Regions from separate parts of the Homo sapiens genome. Here region 1 is linked to region 2. Evidence: promoter capture Hi-C in 16 types of primary human blood cells and fetal thymus (Javierre and others, 2016). All regions are on one chromosome and are shown on one strand. Each heading gives the region's core, a stretch centred on a gene start or on the middle of the fragment in contact. The rest is flanking DNA. Distances are from core to core; before and after follow the strand shown.

The links. The method cuts DNA at HindIII sites, captures the fragments that hold promoters and counts their contacts. A CHiCAGO score of 5 or more calls a contact.
Region 1: a fragment that was not itself captured here is called in contact with the fragment with the promoter of CD302 in region 2 in 1 of 17 cell types (M2 macrophages); the score reaches 5.4 in M2 macrophages.

The regions. Positions count from the first base shown.
Region 1 is chr2:159,555,213-159,559,255 of GRCh38, forward strand. BAZ2B (bromodomain adjacent to zinc finger domain 2B) reads right to left here. Exons shown (of 37, transcript NM_013450.4): 2 at 611-653. Among named protein-coding and RNA genes, the nearest start is that of BAZ2B-AS1, 58 kb to the right of the region's middle. The HindIII fragment of the contact is 2,117 bases long and covers 586-2,702 here.
Region 2 is chr2:159,795,858-159,799,813 of GRCh38, forward strand. It overlaps CD302 (CD302 molecule), which reads right to left and starts at 2,351. Exons shown (of 6, transcript NM_014880.5): 1 at 2,275-2,351. The coding sequence starts at 2,341. All of the region lies in intron 33 of LY75-CD302 (LY75-CD302 readthrough), which reads right to left. It overlaps LOC124906083 (a long non-coding RNA gene), which reads left to right. Exons shown (of 2, transcript XR_007087273.1): 1 at 1-2,095; 2 at 2,962-3,956. The HindIII fragment of the contact is 1,931 bases long and covers 1,703-3,633 here.

The sequences.
Region 1 (4,043 bases), core at 394-2,893, 240 kb before region 2:
TCCCGAGTAGCTGGGATTACAGGTGTGTGCCACCATGCCCAGCTATTTTTGTATTTTTAGTAGAGTCGGGGTTTTACCATGTTGGCCAGGCTAGTCTCGAACTCCTGACCTCAGCTGATCCACCCACCTCGGCCTCCCAAAGTGCTGGGATTACAGGCGTGAGCCACCGCGCCCAGCCTACCAAGGCTACATTTTCATAATCTTTCCTTAATAATTCATTACAATCTCAAGTAATTTACTTTTATATATATTTCCTAATGTGGAATCACCTTAACCTTTCTGTCATTTTCTGGTAAAAATAAAAACTCAAAAAAGATGACGTTCAGAATTTAAGTCACACTGAAATAATTTAGTATATTTAGGCCTGTAATTTCAGTTGTAAATTAAAAGTAATTTTCATTTTAAATGTTTTTTAAATCCTTTAAAGTAATATTTTAAAAGTATTTAAATAACTAGCTAGAAGTATAAGATATGATTCATTTAAAATGTTAACATTCAACTGGCTAGCAAAAGAAATAATAATTTCAAATTATATATGTTTTCTAAGTCAATTCTCATTCTCAGAGAAAACCAAACTTCCTTAAAAGCTTAACTATCATTTTGGTCTTACTGTGATCAATGTGGTCAATCTTGTGACATCACTGTTGGGAAACCTGCAATAGGAAAACAAGAATTAGCAATCAGCTGAAGCATACTTAAGAAATTTCAGAAACTAAAAAGTTTGTTTAAAATTTGTGTCTTTCTTCATGCTGTAAGTCATATTGAAATTAACCTACGGTATCAGGGTCCATATAATCAGTATGACAAAAATAAGCATAAAAGGACTGGAGTTTATTTATAGATCATTATTTATTATAGTATGGCAGATCATGTTTTTGTTTATAATCACCAACACCCTAGGGTGAACATAACATATTAAAAAACAAGCTGTAGGACATTTGGGTTACAAGTTTTATTTGTCTTCAAATTACGTACTCAGAAGAGAAAAACAATGTCTTAAATACGTCACAAACTGAAGACAATTAGGTATTATTTATAAATACTTTTCTGTCTATGATTATCAGTACAGATTAGAACCAAAATGTCATCTACTTAATACTGGAGACATTACCACATGCTAATATTTATGAATAGCGACAAAATTATCAAAAGATTGAAAATATCACTGGGAAGAATTTAGAACAGGAAAAAACTATTTCCTAAACTGTAAATGGCTTCAAGTTTATCCCTGTGAAATCTTAATTTTTGGAATTTTTTGTTGTTTTTTCGAGACAGAGTCTCAATCTCACCCAGGCTGGAGTGCAGTGGCGCGATCGTGGCTCACTGCAACCTCTGCCTCTTGGGTTCAAGCGATTTTTGTGCCTCAGCCTCCTGTGCAGATGGGACTACAAGTGTGCACCACCACACCCAGCTAACTTTTTGTATTTTTTGTAGAGACAGTGTTTCGCTATGTTGGCCAGCCTGTTCTCAAACTCCTGGCCTCAAGTGATCCACCTACTTTGACCTCCCAAAGTGCTGGGATTACAGGCATGAGCCACCGGACCTAGCCTGGAAATTTCTTTATTAACAAGGTCTAATTTGAGATGAGCCCTTAAATGTTTAGTATCAAAAAGTAACACATGGTTATGGCATTTTAAGGTTCATAATGGACTTTCATGTATTATTTTATCAGGTCCTCATAACGAATCCTTCAAAGGGGCAGGAAAGAGATATTCCTTATTATAGACTCCAGGAAAACAGAATTTAGAAATGATACATGACTTGTCTAAGCACAAAGAACTGAATTTTTCCTGGTTTCTCTTTTACCTCAGACCTTTCACCTAGTCTGTCCTACCAACTACTCTTCGTCACTCTATCCTTAATTTTACCTTACTACTTCATGATTACTGGCTCTCCTATGTTACCATTATAGCCTCCCTACTTCTATTCTTTTTTTTTTTTTTTCCCTGCCTCAGCCTCCTGAGTAGCTGGGGACTACAGGTGTGTGTCACTACACCTGGCTAATTAATTTTTTTTTTTTTTTTTTGAGATACGGGGTCTCACCATGTTGCCCAGGCTGGTCTCAAACTCCCGGTCTCAAGTACCTACCTCTGTTCTTAAAGCAAGTTAATCAGATCACATCATTCCCTTACTCAAAATTGTACAATGGCTTTAGCAGCTCTTAGAATAAAACCCACAATACTTATTATCATGACCTCTTAGGCCCTCTGTTACCTGGTGCCCTGACTGCATTTCCTGCTTCTACCATGTTCCAGTCACAATCACCCTTTTGATAATCCCCAAACATATCAAATTTGTTCCACTTCAGGGCCTTGACACTTGCTCTTCCCTCTGCCTGGAGCAATTGTTCTCCATATCTTCATAGGACTGGTTTTCTCACTTCAATCGGGTCTCATAACAAACGCCACCTCCTTAGAGAGGCCTTCCTTTACCACCAGAGGCTGCTGTTAGCTTTAACTCCATGAAGGAAGATCACTGGAGCACAAGTTTAGTACCTGGAACCCAATAGCTAATTAGCTACTGAATGAATGAGTGAACAAGTATTTATCAAGTTCCTACTGCATCCAGCATTATGTCAAGAGCTACAAAGGATCCAAAAGAAAGTTTAAATAAAAACTCTTCAAGAATTACTATCTATTTAAAGAAAATATGCCATAACAACTTGGTATACGTTTTTAAGTCACTGCAAGAAGCATTTGGGAAGCTTAAAAAAAAAAGCAAGGCAGGGGGTGATGGGAAAGCGCGGGTAGTGAATTAAAGGTGTATGATAATGAGGGTCTGGATAGTGAAGAAGAGGAAATGCAGAGGGAATGGGAAACCCAAATCTTAAATGGTGAAACCAGAAGGCTTCATGCTAAACTAAGTATTAGGAACAAGGATAGCAAAAAAGTGAAAGATTACTTCAAAGATTCTCACTCACATAATGAAAGAAATCTGAAGTGGCAGGGTGGGGTGACTTTTATTTAGAACAATAGGACAGGCCAGTGTCACCATAGGCCATTCAAATGAAGACGCTTCCCACCAGCAGGTAGAAATTTATTTATTTATTTATTTATTTTTTGAGATGGAATTTTGCTCTTGTTGCCCAGGCTGGAGTGCAATGGCGCGATCTCAGCTCACCGCAACCTCCACCTCCCAGGTTCAAGCAATTCTCCCGCCTCAGCCTTCCGAGTAGCTGGGATTACAGGCATGCGCCACCATGCCTGGCTAATTTTTTTTGTATTTTTAGTAGAGACGGGGTTTCTCCCTGTTGGTCAGGCTGGTCTTGAACTCCTGACCTCAGGTGATCCGCCTACCTCGGCCTCCCAAAGTGCTGAGATTACAGGCGTGAGCCACTGTGCCCGGCTCCAGCAGGTAGAAATTTAGAAGAGTTCAAGATTTGAAAATCAGTTATATAAAAGTACAGTTCAAGCCAAGACTGTGGGCAAGTTCACCAAGGGAATATGAAGAAAAAAACAGAACAGCCAGCATAATTTGGCAGAGACCTATAAGTAGGGCCCATGGGAAATAAGAGAAGTGGAATTGCAGGGTTTTTTGTTTTGTTTAAGTTCAAGAAGTAGAGACATAGAAAATACAATGAATAAAGGCACATGAAGAAAGATTTCCAAAGAGGAAAACATGTTGAACAGTTTTAGAGGGGTAAAAGTGTTAAGATGGGTAAAAGAAGATAAGACAGGAAACATTCTCTCTAAACTAACCTTCTCTACCCCATCATACCAAATTAGATCAGAAGGTAGCTACATAGGCCAGGCGCGGGTGGTTCATGCCTGTAATCCCAGCACTTTGGGAGGCTGAGGCAAGCAGATTGCTTGAGCCCATGAGTTCAAAACCAGCCTGGGCAACATGGTGAAACCCTATCTCTACAAAAAATAGAAAAATTGGCAAGACATGGTGGCACACGCCTGTAGTCCCGCCAAGCTACTCATGAGGCTGAGGTAGGAGGATCACCTGAGCCCAAGGAGGTCAAGGCTGCAGTGAGCTCTGATCGTACTACTGCACTCTATCTTGGGTGAAGGAGTAACCCTGTTAAAAAAAAAAAAGAA
Region 2 (3,956 bases), core at 1,101-3,600:
CAGAATGAGGACTTACTCGGAACATGCTTGTTCACTCAGCTCATGCCAGGCATAGGAAACCACTGACCAAATAAATACATACTGATCATCTATTATGTGCTTAAGCACCCTTACGGAAAAACTTTTTAAAGCGATGCCATGGATTTTCACTCAGGAATTTAAAGAATGTTTTGTCCACTGTGATTTTCAAAATAATAGCTAAGAACAAGGTTAAGATCACTTCACTAATAACCTCCAGAATGACAGACAATAACAATGATTTCCGTTTCAACATCACATTTATATGCAATACCCATATTTATTATGCAACATCATAAGAGCTTTTCTATTAAGATCTTGGTATTCAGCAACAAACTCTTTCTTGACTTAGTTCTAAGCCAAATATGACCCCTGATCTTGCTTGGATGGGAGATTTGTAAAGTATTATGAAAAACACACTTAGTTTTTCAGCCCTATAACATTAGCATACATATGAATGTGTTCAGTAACCATAAACATCCAATATACATAAGGTGGTATTCATACGTTTTCTGGTTGCAACAATTACCCTTCATTTTGTATGAAGAGAATAAAGGGAAGGAAACCAAGATGAACCACGCCTGTAATAGGGACTAGACGTGGAGTTCCCACTTAATGCTCCCAATAGCCCCATGAGTAAGTATTATCTCTGTTTTACTGAAGTGCAGATAAGTTGGTTAACTAGCTAGGTCAAAGCTCACACTCATTTCCAAATTAATCCTTAAAGCTTCCTGACTGGGAGGAGCTGATTAATTAACATTAATTTATTCATCATGCACTTTTCTAAAGCTCTTGAAAAGCCTATTGATCCACACTGGACTTATCAAAGGAAATGCACAAAAATTTCCAAAGGGAAATTTGCCCTCTATTGCTGGTCAAAACAGCTTCACTGAAGAAGAGACATACCAAAATCTAGAAACTGATTTTCTTTAAAAGTCTGACAAGAAAGAAAAATCTGACAAGAAAATTCGACTAGCCTAAAGTACAAATGCACAGCCTCGCAGAGGGTGGTTTACATGAGAGTTGAGATGTTACTGGCTCGCAAAATGAGGGTGTGCAGAAGGAGGGTTCAGAGACAGCCCAGCTTTGTCTTAGACAAAATTAATGTTCCCAGTCTGAACAATGTGAACATGGGCACATCTTGTTTCTGCCCCTTTGATAGGCAGCAGATGTCACAACCAGTCATAAATGCAGGTCCACAGAAGTTTTCAAGAAAGGAACCTTGGGTTTGTATCCAAGTTCTGAGCTGCTGCTGCCTCCAACACTGAGGTCCACTGAAATATTCCTGTCAGTAGACTTCGAGCAGGCAGTTATTATAAAAACGCAGTGAAATCTGGGGCAAGGGGTGGGGGGGGGGAATCTCTTGCATTTTATTTAAATCTCTTGCACTTTATTTAAGCCCACACAAGTACTCATTTAGTTCTTGTTTATTTTGCTCTTTAATTCCTGGAATTATTCAGTCAGTGGTGTTTTTGGAAGTCTGTGTTCTCCAGAGTCTCCCCATCCACATATTTTTGACATGCTTGTATGGAAATTTTTTAAAAATAAAGACCACGGTCAATAGAATTGTGCATTTTCCTCACGAGTCGTTTTGTAAATGAATGATCACGTGTGTGATTTTTCAGATGTCACTTGCACAACAGCAGACTAGAACTTTAAAACTCCTTGATTTCAGTGAAATCCAAGCTTTGCCTATTCCCGTTCCTCTTCCATCCAGGGGTTATTTGGCTGAACTGTTTTCCTGTTTAAACAACTTGAACACCAACCAACTAGACAAACAGCGCTGCTTGCAAAAGAGGGCCTACTTCCTCCGGCCCCCACCCCCATCCCAGCAACCCCACTCCGGCCGCGCACCAGCAGGGGAAATCGCCACCAACGTCCCCGCTTCTCATTTCAGCCCGAAATTGCCCTGAAACGGCGCCCGTCGTGCGACTCCAAGTCCCTCAGTTCTCCGGCCAACTGGCCTAATTTGGGGGTTCCCTCCCCGCGGAGTGGGGTCTGCGGTGAGGATGTGGACTCCGAGGAAGACAGAGCCCTCCCTTATTCTCGGCCACCTCCCCTCCCCGAGGGCAGGCGGGTGAGAGGTGACCCGGAGCCAGGACCCACGGGGGACGGGCGTGCAGGGAAGGGCGGGATGGCCGGCCGGGTGTTGCGTCTGCGGGCCGCCCTCGGGTGCGCGGGGACGAAGAGCGTGCGTTGGGAAGGGGGCGAAGGCGGTCGCGCACGGTCCCGGCGAGGGACTACGTAAGGGCTTACCCGCGACGGCAGCAGCGGCGAGGCCCAGCAACGGCAGCAGGAGCGCGGGCAGCGCGGCCCGGAGCATGACGGCGGGTGCGGGTGGGCGGCAGCGGCTGCGCGGCCGGAGAGGAGCGGGGCGGGGCGGGAGCGGGGGCGGTGCTTCTCGCGTGCGAGTTTAATCCCCCCCCCGGGCGGAACGTGAACGGCACTGGGGGCTCCCACCAGGAGAACCCGGGTGTCCCGTCCCGCAGGAGCGGCTGGCGCGCGGCCTTCTGGAACTTCTAATTTTTGTTTTTTAAACTTTTCATTTGAATTGAAATAATTTAGGACTTTCGAAAATGTTGCAAAAACAGCACAAGAGATTTCCGTAACCCTTCAGCCAGCTTCTCTAAATATTGACATTGTATATAACGCCAGTGCAGTGATCAAACACAGGGCACTCGCACTGGGATAATGCGATTAGCTAATCTACAGCACTTACCACATTTCATTAATTGCCCCTCTAAGGGTCCTTTTCTGTTCCAAGATTCAATCCAGGATCATACATTGCATGTCGTGTCTCCTTAGTCTCCCTTTAATCTAGGACGGTTCTCTGTCATTCTTTTTCTTTCACGATCAAACCACATTTAAAAAGTACTGGCCAGTCGTTTTGTAGAATGTCCCTCAGTTTCATTTTGTCTGACATTTCCTTCTAATTGGATTCAGGTTGCGCTTTTTTGGGAAAGAGTTCCCCAGAAGTGATGTACGTGCTCGAGAAGGACAAGATGTCGATGTCTCATCACTGATGTTAACTTGGATCAGTTGGTTAAGGTGGCGTTTGCCAGCCTTCTTCTTTGGATCTACTGGCCAGAATCCTCCTTTTCAAAGACCCCTTTCAGTGGACTATGTCTCTTAGACAACTTTTCTCTGTTACCAGCTCCTGGATGAAGAGTCTTTAAGCTATGTTTGCTACAATGTATGCATAAACTGTGCAATTATACTTCACCCATGAGGGCCTCTGGACAACACTAGCCAGGGTCAAGCAAGGGTGCTTGTTTAAGCCTCATGTCATTGGCAAAAGAGTTCTATAAAATCAAGTCTAAACTCAACAACGTGAAAACAAATGACCCAGTTAAAAAAAATGGTCAGATGATCTGAATACACACGTCATCAAAGAAGTTATATAATGGCAAATAGATGAAAAGATGCTCAACATCATATGTCATTGCTGAATTGTATATGAAAACAAAAATGAAATACCACTACATACCTATTAGATACCAGAATCCAAAAACACTGACAAGACCACATGCTGGCAAAGATGTGGAGCAAAAAGAACTCTCATTCAATGCTGGTGCAAATGCAAAATGGTACAGCCACTTTGGAAGACAATTTGGAAGCTTCTTCCAAAACTAAACGTACTCTTACCATACCATCTAGCAATCACAACTCCTTGGTATTTATCCAAATGAGTTAAAAACTTACATACACACAAAAACCTGCACATGAATGTTGATAGCAGCTTTATTCATAATTGCCAGAACCTAGAGGCAAACAAGATGTCCTTCAATAAGTGAATGGATAAACAATGGCACATCCAAACAATGAAATGTTACTCAGTACCAAAATTAAATGAGCTATCAAGCCACAAAAAGACATGGAAGAACTTTAAATATGTATTGCTAAGAGAAAGAAGCCAATCTGAAAAGACTGCATACTAT